Regions from separate parts of the Homo sapiens genome. Here region 2 is linked to region 1. Evidence: promoter capture Hi-C in 16 types of primary human blood cells and fetal thymus (Javierre and others, 2016). All regions are on one chromosome and are shown on one strand. The core of a region is centred on a gene start or on the middle of the fragment in contact, and the rest is flanking DNA. Distances in the headings are between cores, read along the strand shown. Region 1 holds the start of ZNF571 (zinc finger protein 571). Region 2 holds the start of ZNF471 (zinc finger protein 471).

Region 1 (7,029 bases), core at 1,109-3,608:
ATGTACTGTGGCCCTTTGGAGGACCACAGATCATTGTAATACCTATGAGTTTTTGTCCTCTTCCTTCTCAAAAACCAAGTTTCACCCACTTGGAAGGTGATATCCTCCACCCTCATTGAGAATGCATGCTTTAGGTGAAAAAAAGGAAAGGATTAAATGGACAGCATTTAAACACATCAATATGACATCACTGAAAGTGGGACATCAGACTGTAAGGGCCTCATGATGTGATGTAATAGGAAGTACACAGCACCAACTATGAATTAAAGGTGATTTAGGGAAAATCTGATCCAAATTCCATCAAACCTCTAGATCTAACTGCCTGTTTACAGAAATATGAAGGAACGGAAAACAAATTATAAGACAGTACAAAGAAGCAATTAGCTAAAAGCAGTATACAGAATATTCTACGGGACAGATGATCTAGTTTTTCTACAAATCAACAGCACCAATTAAACCAAAACAAAACACAGGAGGGAAACTATCATGCATTAAGTAAGTTTAACAGGTTTGGCCACCAAATGCAATGTGTGGACTCTATCTGGATCCAGATTTGAACACACCTATTGTAAAAATATGTCTTTGAAATAATTGGGAAAATCTGAATATGGGGGTATACAAGATTATGAAATAACCACCACGCTGTTACACCAACATAAGAAACAAATTTATTGTTTTAAACTTATTGTTAGTTTTTTTTTTTATGTTGGTATAACAGCATCATGGTTATTTTAAAATATAATGTCCTTTTTGGTAATATATGCTTATAAGAGGATAAAATACAATTTTGAAATACTATAGGAAAAAACGGGGAAGGATTGATACAAAGGTATTTACAAATGTTTTTAATTACAGCTAGGTGTTGAACATGTTGGGGTTCGTATTATTCTTTAGCCTGCTTGAAAACATCCACAATAAAGTTAAAATTTTAAAACTCTTCAAATTTCCCCCAGAAAGTACAGTTATTTTTCATCAAAACCTTAGACCAGGCCAGGCGCGGTGGCTCACGCCTGTAATCCCAGCACTCTGGGAGGCCCAGGCGGGTGGATCACGAGGTCAGGAGATCGAGACCATCCTGGCTAACACGGTGAAACCTCGTCTCTACTAAAAACACAAAAAATTAGCCGGGCATGGTGGCGGGCGCCTGTAGTCCCAGCTACTCGGGAGGCTTAGGCAGGAGAATGGCGTGAACCCGGAAGGCGGAGCTTGCAGTGAGCCGAGACCGCACCACCGCACTCCAGCCAGGGCGACACAGCGAGAATCCGTCTCAAAAAGCAAACAAACAAACAAAAAAATCTTAGACCAGAAAGGACTGCTGTATCATTGGGTGGAAAGGAGAGGTGTAGTGTGGCTGGGGAGTAGAGCTAAACTGATGATCCCATCCCCGCAGCATCATTTATGGGGTGCCTAAGGACCAGTCACTAGCATGGCTGGTTCTTCCTTAGGAAGATGTTGCTGGAGGTAGAAAACGTTTCGGAAAGGAAGAAATTTGAGGTTAGAAAGAAAACAGGAACTTCACACAAGACTTTCAGAAGTGCGATATTCTTTTCCTCTGGGTGCCTCTCTTGGAAAACGCAGAACCGAGAAAAGAAATAAGCATCATAGAACATCAGAGCTCTCGGAGCAGACGAAACAATTTAGGATAACACCAACCTCTAGAAAGGGATTAGTCTTCCCCACAGGGCTGTCAAGCTAGAATAGGACATCTTTAACAGTGGTCTTCTTCCTAAGACACTTCCAGGGGTAAAGCCTCACCATCAGGGAAACTTCAAAAAGAGCCTCTTACTCTGCAAAGAAACTGCAGCAGCTGTAACCGCACGATTCTCAGCTGGCTTAATGATGTCCGTGTCACACGAGGAGTACTGCGGCCCGGGAGGGGCCAAGCGCTAGGAGCATTAACAGGCGGCAGGTGAGCCCACCCCGCGGCCGCACAAGCGCACACGCACACGTCCAGGGCGGAGGAACACTACTAGTAACACCCGCCTCCTTCTAGCCTCCCTATCCCAAAGTTATGGTGCCGATTTTGTCCGCGGCAGGGGCTCCAGGGGCACACTCATAAATTCGGTGCGGAGGAACACAACTAGCAGCACCACACCCCCGCCACTGCCAGAACCAAAGTGACGGTGCCGACACCCCTCCGCAAGCGCAAGGCCGACTTCCATAAGTAATTAGCCAGAGCACCGTCCCGTTCCTGTCAGCACCGAGCCCCAGCCAGGACACCGGTATTCCCAGCACCATACAAGAACTACTTTTTCGATGAAGCAACCCAAAAGCTGCGAGCGGTTCCCGGTGAGGCCGCCCACTCACCTGGCCGGCGCAGACAAGCTCCGTGCGTCAAGACATAACAGCGTAAGTGTACGACGTTGCGCAGCGACGCGGGGGCCTTCGGGAAATGTAGTCTACAACTGGAAACCGGCCGGATCGTGTCTGCGCAGGCCCAGCAGCTAAGATCGGGTCCGGCGCTCCAGAACAGAACGATCCCTGAGGCTCCCTTGCTCGAACTGTGGGACTTACCCTACTATGGTCCGAGCCTACCCTATTTCATTATACTCAAGTAACGCCCCAGAAATTCCAGAGAATCTCACACAAAGAGGTTGAGTCTTGCCGTGGTGCCTTCAGGGGAATGTCATCCCGGGCTAGAAGAGCTGCAAAAGGCTGTCAGGTAAGGTCTGGATTTCTCTCTGACAGCTCTGGCCGTGACGCAGTGGCCACGATACCGGGTTGCTGCTCAACGGGGTTCGGAAGTGTGACGCATTCTTTGCGGCCATGTGTGTGTGTGTGCGTGTGTGTGTGGGTCTGTGCGCGCGCGTGTCCGAGTGTCCTCTGTGGGTGCAGAGTGGGTAGTGGCCATGCCTGTGTGATGTGCGTCAGATTATGCTTGAGGCTATTAGTGGCGCATTTAGTATTGTGTGCGGAAGGGTCTTGGGAATGGTTTGATTATAGCTTTGAGGGTGACTGATGTCTGTTTAATCAGATTCAGCCTGCGACTGAGTATCTTATAACCTGTAAGAAATTGATTTTTCTTTGCATGGTCATGAATTTAAAATAGATTCCCATGAAATTATATAAATGTAGTGAATGATTCATTGAGAGTTCGCCTGTGGCAGTGAATGTGGGGAAAGAAGTGTGTGAGCATAATATGGTGAGAATGAGCACGATTGTGTGCAGCGCTGTATTATAGTGATATCTCCTGGCTTCAGTTTTCTCACCTGTAAAGTGAGGGTGTCAGTCGTGTAACGCTTTGGAACAATGCTTTTTAATAGGAATTTCTGCAAAACTGAGTTCCATTTTTTATATCTGTGCTCTCCAATATAGTAGCCACTAGCTACATATGGCTATTGAGAAATTGAAATGTGGCTGGTTTGACTGAGGAACGAATTTTTTAAATTGTGTTCAATTTTAATAAATCTAAATGTAAACAGCTATATATGGCTAATAGTCTTCCTATTGAACAGTACAACCTGGAGCATTAATTTGCCTTCAAGATTTGAAGGGGGTAAAAACTTAATTCATCTAGCAAATATTTGAAAATGAAATTCTTAAAACTTCCTTAAATTTTTTTTTAAATTTGAGATGATTGTAGATTCATATGAGGTTGTAAGAAATAATAGAGACATTGTGTGTTATCTTCAACTTAGTCTTCTCCAATGACAACATCTTGCAGGACTGTAGTATAATATGACAACCAGGATGTTGACATTGATAGTCAAGATAGATCATTTCCATCACCTCGAGGATCTGTTGTGTTGCCCTTTTATAGACAAATGCACTTTCTTCCCTCTTGTTTGAAGATATTCGCGTCAACATTAATGATAATGTAGGCATACCTCATTTTATTGTGCATCATTTTATTGCACTTTGCAGATACTGTATTTGTTTGTTTTAAAGAGACAGGCTCTCACTGTCTCACCCAGGCTGGAGTGCAGTGGTGCAGTTATAGCTCACTGCAGTCTCGAACTCCTGGGTTCAAGGGATCCTCCAGCTGGCCCACAAAGCCTGAAATATTTATTATGTGGTTCTTTGCAGGAAAAGTTTGCAGACTCCCAATCTATATTATTTCTGATGGCTACTTTATTTTCTATTATATGGATACACTAGAATTTATTTAACCTGTTCTTTATTGAAGTCTAATTTATGTTTGTATCTAGCTTTTTCCATTTTAAAATTAGTCTATCTGCACCTGTCTGCATATATCCTAGTGAACATATATAATTATTTTCCTTAGACAGGGTCATAGGAGTGGGATTACTGAAACATCTGGCTCATATTATTAAATTCTGCTAATATAAATTTCTAATTTACCCTCTTTAAGGTGGCACCAGTGTATAACATGGCGTGAGGGCATCTATTTTACTCCAGTTTAACATGTTATTATCAGTCTATTCAATGTTCCCGTGTTGTAAATATAAAATGCTATTTGCCACTTTAACGTATATTATCTTAATAAGTAGCAACATTTAATAGCTTTTAGTCATTAAACCCAAGTCATTATTCACGCTTGGGTTTTATTAGGCGTAATAAGAAATTCTGGGTATCAGTGACAAGAGCACAGTTGAAAAAGAACTGGCTTTGTAGTTGGAGAATTGTGGATTCAGAACTCAGATGTCTTGTTTATTAACAGTGGATTTAGGTTTCTGTTTTTCTGATGTTGAAGTGGAGATAATAATGACATTGTAGAACTGTTCTAAGGATTAAATAGCTATATATAAGGTATGCATCACATAAAAGTTGATTTTTTTTTTATTGCTTCCAGGGCCATAAATTTACTTCTCCCTCTAGTTTGGGTACTGAGGGAGAAGGGAGGGTGAATGATGTCCTGCAGGGACCCTGGGGACTCTTCTGATTGAGGGAAATGGGGAGTGGTGAGCCCTGAGGATTGTGGGAGTTCCAGTTCAGGCTAGGAAAAGGGATCCCAGTGTGCAAGTATAATTTTGCAATGATAAAGGCCATCATGGATTGTCTATGCCAGGGATCAGCAACTGTTTCTTTGGTTTTTTGTTTGTTTGTTTTTGAGACGGAGTTTCAATCTTGTTACGCAGGCTGGAGTGCAATGGGGCGATCTCAGCTCACCGCAGCCTCCCCCTCCCAGATTCAAGCGATTTTCCTGCCTCAGTCTCCTGAGTAGCTGGGATTATAGGCACGCGCCACCACATCCAGCTAATTTTGTATTTTTAGTAGAGACGGGGTTTCTCCATGTTGGTCAGGCTGGTCTTGAACTCCCGACCTCAGGTGATCTGCCCGCCTTGACCTCCCAAAGTGCTGGGATTATAGGCGTGAGCCACTGCGCCCAGCCAGCAAATGTTTTTTATAGAGGACCAAATAGGAAGTATTTTAGGCTGTGTGGCCCATACAATCTCCATTGCAACTACTCAACTTGGCTATGGTAGCTTTCTGAAAGTAGCCATAGTCAGAAGTAAACACATGAGCATAGCTGTGTTCCATTCCAGCTTTATTTACAAAAACATATGGGCGGGCCAGATTTGGCCCATGGGCCATAGGTTGCAAACTCCTAGTCTGTTCTATCTTTCGTTTTTAAGTCTGGGGAGGCCAGGAAGCTCCTAAGGCCATGAAGGCAGTCTGCTTTGGATAATGTGGTCTGTCCCCTTTGGATGGTGAGAATTGAGGGAAGAGAATCTACTCTGGGCAATTCTGAACATCCCAGCCTTGGGCCTAGATCAGTATCCTCATAGTGGGGATTGGCCCAGAACTCTCCTGCTGAAATATTGGTCATGTGTTCTAATGCAGGATAACCTCTGCACTGTGTCCATCCTCGTACAGCCAGGTTCCCTTGCTGTGGTGAGTGTGTCGGAGGGAGGTGAGGGAAGTGTAGGGGAGGTATTTGCAAGCAACAGTGGAAAATAAAAGATTATTAATTTATATCATATTGTTACCTCTGAGGCAGACCTAGTCTCACTGTCTCATTTTTTTCTCCTCTAACTCAGGCTTCTCAGAACTTTGCTTCTCCAGCAGAATAATCCTGCGGAAGACTGAGCAGTTCTTGTGAGTGTAAAACCATGGCCCATGTAAGTCACAGTTTCTCTTTCCTTTTTAGATTATTTTGTTTTTAAAGATCATGTGAACATTTTCACTCTTTATGCTGACACTTCCTAAGAATTTTTTCTTCATCCCCACATTTCCAAGCTCCTCCCATGGGCCCCCTCTCTTTTCTAACCAGTATCCACATGCACATTGACCAACTCATTCAGGGTACTCAGTCTCTGTCTAGGGCAGAGATGGAACAGACATGAAGTTCCTAGAGGGGGAGGTACTTTACCATCCTTTGTCAGATCTGAGGTGTAATGAAACCAAGAATGGAATCATTTGACTACACGTAGGAAAGCACTGCAGTTTTCCACAGATCCTGTGTCTGTAGATAAATGCAGTTTAATATTGATTGGCCTCAGTTTCAGTATGTGGTTGGGGCCTGCTTATAGAGAGGCCAGGGGATCTTTCCTGAGAATCTCTGAGGTGAAAACCCATAGTAAGACGCATTTTGTGGTTAAACGGAATGTGCTAGTCTTGACATCAGTATGATTCTGGTTCATTACATCAATATTCTTAATCTCAAGAAAAAAGAAGGTGTGTAGTACTTATAAGAAAATCATCCAGATACATAAATATTAGTTAATTGTATTCTCCCAGATTTGCAGTGAGGTACTATGGCCTCGAACTTCTGAGTTCACCACTGTACTCCAGCGTGGGCAACAGAGTGAGATCTCCGTCTCGATTGATCAATCGATTGATCGATAGATAGATAGATAGATAGATAAACTTAAAGGAAAAAGAGGATATAGGATTCTTTTTTATGTATTAAGTGGTTTTTCTTAAAGTATTTATTATTAAGTAATAATTTATTGAGAATTTTTGAGGTAGAAATATAGTTTATTTGCTTGTATCCACTGTTTAATTGAATTGGGAAACATTTATTTGTTCCCAGAAATGTTTTGAGTAGTTAAAGAACCCCATAATATACAGGAAATTTTGCATATAGTGGCTGGATTCTTCAAGAAAATGAGGTGACTCTGCTTT
Region 2 (7,532 bases), core at 1,692-4,191, about 19 Mb after region 1:
TACACTTCTCAGTATGATAGGTAAGAAATGGTATCTCAGTGTAGTGTGAATTACACTCCTCTTATTTTGAATGTCATAAGTTATCTTTTTTAATGTTCATAGTACTTAGAATAATTTGTATGGACAAAGCACGTTGACTGAGCTTCTGTTGCTAACTGGAGGTATCGGATATTTAACAACACTTAGAAGTTTGGATGGCAACATTCATTTAAACTGTGAGACAGTAATACCTGTTGAGGTGCAGAAACTCCACTACCCCTTCAAGAATCCTTTTTTTTTTTTTGAGACAGAGTTTTGCTCTTGCTGCCCAGGCTGGAGTTCAGTGGCGTGATCTCGGCTCACCACAACCTCCGCCTCCCAGATTCAAGCGATTCTCCCGCCTCAGCCTCCCATAGCTGGGATTACAGGCATGAGCCACCACGCCCGGCTAATTTTGTATTTTTAGTAGAGACAGGGTTTCTCCATGTTGGTCAGGCTGGTCTCGAACTCCCGACCTCAGGTGATCCTCCTGCCTCAGCCTCCCAAAGTGCTGGGATTACAGGCGTGAGCCACTGCACCTGGAAGAATCCATTTTTTTTTTGAGACAGGGTCTTGCTCTGTTGCCTGGGCTGGAGTGCAGTGGTGTGACTATGGCTCACTGCAGCCTTGAATTCCTGGGCTCTAGCAATCCTCCCACTTCAGCCACCTGAGCAGCTGGGACTACAGGCATGGGCCAGCATGTCCAGCTAATTTTTTTGATTTTTAGAAGAGACGAGGTCTTACCATTTTGCCCAGGCCAGTCTCAAACTCCTGAGCTGAAGCAGTCCTCCCAGCTCGACCTCCCGAAGTGCTAGGATTACAGGTGTGAGCCACTGCACCTGGCCAAGAACCCATATTTAGAGTCAGACTCACCATATCCTTGAAGAAACCATTCCAAATATTATTTAAATGACTCCGTATTTTTGACCATCCTCATTCTCCAGAAATAATAACCAAAAGTAACTATATCTCTGGGATTTCTCACTAGGTAAACAATCTTAAATGAAAAAGAGAGATAATAAGAATAAATGTATCCATTCTTCTTGCTTCAAGATTCTTGCAAAAGGCAAAAAACATCAAACTCCCATTAAAGTTTTGGCTATAGCTTGTCCTTCTTTAATTCATTCATTTAACAAAATGTATTGATAACCCACTATGTGCTTGACATCTACTTAGACACTGTAGAAGGAACAGAGGACAAGATACGGGTCATTTCTGCCCTGAAGAACATTATAATATAAGGCAGGGAAGAGGCTAACTAATGTTTGGACAATCAAATGATGTTACTACACTTGGGCACCACTGTTTAAGAATCCCTGGGCTGTAAATCAGGAACTGTGAGTTTGTTGGGATTCTGCCAGAGACTCTGACTCAGTGCTACTCCAGGAATTTTATCTTTCAGACCTCTCTTTCTTTTTGTAGGAATTCCTACTCTATCCCATATAAGCAAATCTCAGGGACTAAGCAAGTAGATGTTAGCAGTCAACCATATGTAAGATTCTTTTATAAAATTCAACATGATGGCGTGAATAAACTCACTATGCTACCACTGGTTGTGAAACCTGAAGAGATTAAACAAACTTTGCATTTTCTCAAAACAAACAAAAAAGAGTTTGTTAGAATTAATAAAGCTGACCCCAAGCTAGGATAAGTTGGATCCAGTGTCATACAAGGCCATTTCCAATTCTAAACAAATAACGTTGACCACATGGAGCCTGTGGGGAAAACTGGTCAACTCTCACCTGAAGTTCCAAAAGTTGAGAATATCATATTCTGTCCCAGAAATTAATTTGTAATCCAAATTCACCTGGTCACCAACACTGTTGTTAAATTTGATATTCTTCAGAAAGGAGTTAAGCTTAAAAATAGTGCACTGTTACAGGATGGAAAGAGTTCTGAATTTGGAAAGAAGAAACTTGAATTAGAGTAATACCTTTGAAACTTATTAGATGTGTGGCTTTGGAAAAAGTCCCTTATTGTTTAAATCTTCAACTGTAAAGTTAGTTATTCAATTTTATTTTTACAAGAATTATGTGAGATAATACCTTTGATGGCCCATGAACAAAAATGTGGTATATATAAAGTAAAAATTAGATAAAGAAAACATTATATATGTAATGTAATGATAATTTAATATATAGTATGATAATGGAAATACCCCTTACTTCCTTGGTGGGATGAATGAGGACAGAAGAATCAAAATAATCTCTTGTTATTGGTTGAATTTTGTCTGCCCCAAATTTTGCATGTTGAAGTCCTAACTCCCAGTACCTCAGAATGTGACTGTATTTGGATATAGGATTTTTACAGAGTTAATTAAGTTGAAATGAGGTCGTTAGGGTGGGTCCTAATGCAATCTGACTAGTCTCACCATGTCTCCATGGGTTTTCTCTGGGTACTCCAGATTCCTCCCACATCCCAAAGATGTGCACAGTAAGTTAACTGGTATGTCTAAGTTGTCCCAGTCTGAGTGAGTGTGGGTGTGTAGTAGGCTACACAATCTAGGTTTGTGTAAGTACACTCTATGATGTTTGCACAACAAGGTTCTTAGGAAATTGCCTAAGAACCCATTTCTCAGAATGTATCTCCATCCTTTAGCGATGTAGACTGTATTTCCATACTGTAAATAGTCCCCTTGTGGTGGATTTCAATCTACCAATATGACATCACTGAATGTGGAGTTAGAAAGAAAGGTACAGTTCATGGCTCTCAGTTCCTACAGCTCTTTTAATTTCCTAAATGACTGCAGCAATAAAGTATCTTTTGTTAAAATATCTGGCCTTTTGTTCCTGGTTCCTGAAAAAGCTCCAGAACAGCTCCAGAGCCATAAAGGTGAAAGACAGTATTTCAACCACACATGAGTTTATGTTAATGAGGTGATTTTTGGAAACTCTCAAGATAATCCCAATATTTGGGGGGAGTGGTGGCTAGTTGCCAGAGGAACCAGCCATGTGCTCAGAGGACTGGAACTCACAGCTCCACCCTCTACTTCTGGGAAAAGAGAGAGCCTGAAAATTAAGTTGATCGCCAGTGGCCAATGATTTAATCAATCACATCTACATAATGAAACCTTGAAAACCGAAAAGGCCTGAGTTCAAGCGGCTTCCAAGAAGGTAGACAAAAACACATCCTCGTGCTGGGAGGGTGGTGCACCCCAACTCCACGGGCACAGAAGTTCCTGCACTAGGGATTCTCTCGGACCTTGCCCTACATGTCTCTTCATCTGGCTATTTGTATCCTTTAAAATATCTTTTATAATAAACCAGTAAACATAAGTGTTTCCTTGAGTTCTGTGAGCTGCTCTAGCAAACTAATGGAACCCAAGGAGCCGGCTGTGGGAGCCCCAATTTATAGCACATCTCTCTGAAACACAGGTACAACAATCTGGAGTTTGGAATTGGCATGGGAAGTGGGGGACAGTCTTTTGGGACTGAGCTGTCTAACCTGTAGGATCTGATGTTTTCCAGGTAGCGTCAGAATTGAATTGGAGTAGCGGTCACCTGGCTGGTGTCTGCTGCAGACAGGTTTTTTTGACATGTTAAGACATTATAAGAGACAATAGAAAAAATGTATACGATACAACCTTCTCTGAGTTATATTTCTCCATAGCCCTTTTTACTGTTCATCAGACTGTTTATCTAACTCATGAATTTGTGGCTTGTCTCTCTCCGCTTCAAAGTAAATTACATAATAAGAGGACAGGGATTTTTTTTTCTCTGCTGTATCCCCCTGAATTGCTTTTCCTTATTTGTCTCACCTTCCAATACTAATTCTACAGTTCTCCTAGTCAGGGCTAGTCCCCTAAAACGGGGACCATTTCCATTTTGTTAAGGGGCTGAACGCGGTTCAAGCCTAGCAGATTGGTTCCAAAAACGTCGTGTTATTCACTGCCTCTGATCAGTGACATTCCCATTTGCAGCTGAAAGAGGTATTAATTCGCCAGAGTCACAACACGGTCGGGGTTCCTCGTCGCTGTCTTATTCCAAAATAAGCTTAACACAGAAAGATAATGACACTCCCACGGACTGGCACAGAAGGCCGCGCTCCGAATGACATCGCGATCACAGAGGCACAGACAGCGTCACAAAGCCCCACGCGTACTCACACCGAAGGCTCAGCCGTCGCGCGTTTCCCTCCCAGGCCCCAGGAACTAGTAACTAGGGACGCTTCTGGTCTCTAGGCGAGGAGAGGGGGAGAGCGCAATCTTTGCGCCTGCGCACACTCCTGCTCTTACCCGCCGGAACCCTGGGCCACGCCCGGCTCGCGTAATCACGCACTGCGCAGGCACCGCCCGCTCTGCTCTAAGGTCCCTCTCACTCCTTCAGCAGCCCGAGGACAATCCCCTCAACACTAGGCCACGCCTTGTCTCCGCCCCTCTCGTCCGACCCCTGGAGAGAGGCTGGCGCCTGCGCGATGGGGGGTTCCAGCGTCGACTCACGGAGTCCTTCGGATGAGAGCGTCTGGGTGCCAGACGAGGCCGGGGGTTTGTTTTGGGTGGTTTGGGAGTCCGAGCTCGAGGGCTGGGCCAGGAAGGGCAGGCGAGGCGGGCGGCTCCGACGCGGGTCGCGAAGGCCCAGCCGCGTCCTCTGTCCCCAGGACGACTACATTTCCCAGAGGCCAGCGGGGCGCGCGTACTCGAGTCTGCGGGGCGGAGGCCGCGGCTCGGGGCTGCTGGGCGTTCGGGGCGGCTTGGGGCGGCGGGACCACTGGAGTGAGCTGTGGGAGAGATGGGGGTGTGCCTGTGTGTAAAAGATCTGTCAGAGTGTGAGGCTCCGTGAGAGGGTGTGGTTTCTGTGTGTGTGTGTGTGTGTGTGTGACAGACCGAGAGTCCAGTGTGAGACCAGGGTATGTTCGTGTGTGACAGAGCGAGACGGGCCAGTGTGAGAGACCAGTGAGTGTGAGAGAGATAGGGATGTGCCTGCATTTGAAAGAGAGCGTGTGAAGCTCAGTGAGAGGTTGCGAGGTGTGTGGGTGTGTAAGTGTGTAACAGACCAGGTGTCCAGAGCGTGAGACCAGGATGTATTCGTGTGAGAGAGTGAGACGGGCTGGATGGAGTGTGAGAGACCAGTGAGTGTGAGAGATGGGCGTGTGCCTGTGTGTGAAAGGCCGGTCGGTCGGTGGGTGAGGCTCAATGAGAGGCCGGTGTGTGTTCGAGAGAGAGAAGAATCACCATGTATGCGAGACTAGACTGTGCAAGAACAGAGTGTGAGACTGTGGTATGTTAATGTGTGAAAGGGAGACCAGTGAGTGTGAGAAATGGGTGTTTTGGGTGAAAGACCCGTCAGTGTGTGAGGCCGTGTTATGTGTGTCTGACAGACTGAGAGAGACCAGAGTGTGAGACCAGGGTGTGTTCGTGTGTGAGAGACAACATAGCGTGAGACCAGTGAGTGTGAGAGAGATGAGCACGTGGCTGTGTGTGAAAGACCAGTCATTATGTGAGGCTCCTTGAGAGGCTGGTGTGTGTGTATGAGAGAGAGAAAGAGACTAAACTGTGAGAGTCCAAAGAGTGAGACTAGGTTATGTTGTTATGAGTTTGTGAGAGAGAGGGAGGCGATCAAAGTATAGGACAAAGTTATGTTTCCTGGCTTACGACTTCTAAGATCCTTGGAATCTCCAAAGTATTAAGTGTCTTTTTGCATGCTAATGATTGGTGGGCTGGCAGCCTGTAGGTTGATCACGGTAAGGGATGGTCACAAGAACAATCTAGGCAGGATTAGAGGGTTGGGATTACCTGCCCCATCCCTCAATCTCCAGGGAAAGGAAAGGGAGCCACAGGTTAAACTGATCATCAGTGGTCAGTGATTTAACCAGTCATGCCTACATTATGAAGCTTCCATAAAAACCCAAAAGGACTGGGTTCATCAAACTTCCAGATAGCTGAACACTGGAGGTTCCTGTAGGATGAGCCCCTTCCTATATAACCTTGTCCTATGCATTTCTTCACCTGCATCCTTTGTAATATCCTTTATTACTACAAACGTGTTTCCCTAAGTTCTGTGAGCTGCCCTAGCAAATTAATTGAACGCAAGGAGGGGGTCATAGGAACCCCGATTTATAGCTAGTCAGAAGCACAAGTAAAACAACCTGGGGTTTGCAACTGGCATTGGAAGTGGGGAGCAATTTTGTAGGGCTGAGCCCTCAACCTGTGGGATCTTATGCTGTCTCCAGGTAGATAGTGTCAGAATTGGGTTGCCCTAGAGGTCACCCACCTGGTATTCACTGGGTTGCCCTAGAGGTCACCCACCTGGTATTCACTGAAGAACTTATTGCTTGCCTGGTGTGTGTGTGTGTGTGTGTGTGTGTGTGTGTGTGTGTGTAGATCCCCACACATCTGGTCTTAGAACTGTTTTGTGTTGTGTGAGTGGAGTAGGAGAAACAGTTTGTTTTTCCTCTTTGTCACCTGAGTGTGTTATCAGGGACTGGATTGTGAGAATCCAGAGTGTGAGACCAGGGTATATCAATGTGTGAGAGAAATAGATGTGCCTGTGTGAAAGATGAACAAGTATGAGGCTCCCTGGAGTCTGAGAAAGATCATGTGTGTGTCTGAGTAAAAGCAAGAGACTAGACTGAGAGTTCAGTGATTGGGAGAGACTGGGGTATGTTGGTGTGAGTGTGTGAGAGACCAATGGGTATGTGAGAGACTAGAGTATGTCTCTGTCTGGACTGGTAGGTTGTGAGAGGGTGTATCACAGTATGAAAAAGATTGGAGTGAGAGTGACCAGTATGTATTTTGTGTGCATGAGATAAAGCAGTTGGAATATGAGAGATCAGAGTGTGTTTGTGTATCTGTGTGAGACACTGGAGCATTTGAGTAACTGAGGCCTCTTTGAAAGATACCATTGAATGTGTATGTATGAGAGACCATCATGTTTATATGTGTGAAAGAGGGAGAGAAAGACTAGTGATGTGGTTGTGTGAGAGACCAAAATGGGTGAGAAAGAAACTATGTGAACCATGGTGTGTTATCCAAAAGGCTTTACAAATATAACCTCTGTGAGGTTGTGAAGCATGCATGTGTGAGTGAGACAGAGATAAGGGACAGTGAGCTGTGTGTGTGAGAGAAGTAAGATTGGGGGTATGTGTGAAGGTGTTGGTGAATCACCACGTGTGCTTATATTCATGTCCTCAGGCAATGGAAATGTGACTGTGTATATGTGCTTGTTTTGGGGTGCTTGTGATTGTGTCCTCCGTGTGACCATGAAACCTGTGTTAGTGTTTGTATGTCACCCTGTATACCCATAATTGTGGCCCTGTATGACTGCTGTGTATGGAGAGACTACTTGGAAGATTGATAGGATTGGATTCTTTATGAGTGTGGCTGTTTGGAATTGTGTGTTGCCGGGATAGGAAATGTGGAATAGAATTCCTGTCCCCAGTCCAAGGGTTTCAGTAAGAAGCAAAGCTGGGGTGACTGAAGCTCCTAACTGAAGCAGGAGACACCCTCACTTCTGTGTGACAGGAGGGTAATTAAGGGGCTGGGACAGAGGTGAGAGTGAAAGTGGCAGAATTGAGTG

Evidence for each region. Contacts are between HindIII fragments. The CHiCAGO score rates a contact against its expected background, and 5 or more counts as called.
Region 2: a contact is called between a fragment that was not itself captured here and the fragment with the promoter of ZNF571 in region 1, in 1 of 17 cell types (total B cells). The highest score is 5.3, in total B cells.

The regions. Positions count from the first base shown.
Region 1 is chr19:37,592,434-37,599,462 of GRCh38, forward strand. ZNF571 (zinc finger protein 571) reads right to left here and starts at 2,359. Exons shown (of 4, transcript NM_016536.5): 1 at 2,308-2,359. It overlaps ZNF540 (zinc finger protein 540), which reads left to right and starts at 2,443. Exons shown (of 5, transcript NM_001172225.3): 1 at 2,443-2,662; 2 at 5,943-6,023. The coding sequence starts at 6,015. RefSeq lists enhancers at 1,320-2,001, 1,801-1,930, 2,001-2,050, 2,002-2,684, 2,281-2,480 and 2 more. The HindIII fragment of the contact is 14,201 bases long and covers 1-7,029 here.
Region 2 is chr19:56,503,420-56,510,951 of GRCh38, forward strand. ZNF471 (zinc finger protein 471) reads left to right here and starts at 4,436. Exons shown (of 5, transcript NM_020813.4): 1 at 4,436-4,501. It overlaps LOC124904776 (a long non-coding RNA gene), which reads right to left and starts at 331. Exons shown (of 3, transcript XR_007067352.1): 1 at 231-331. The HindIII fragment of the contact is 2,134 bases long and covers 1,875-4,008 here.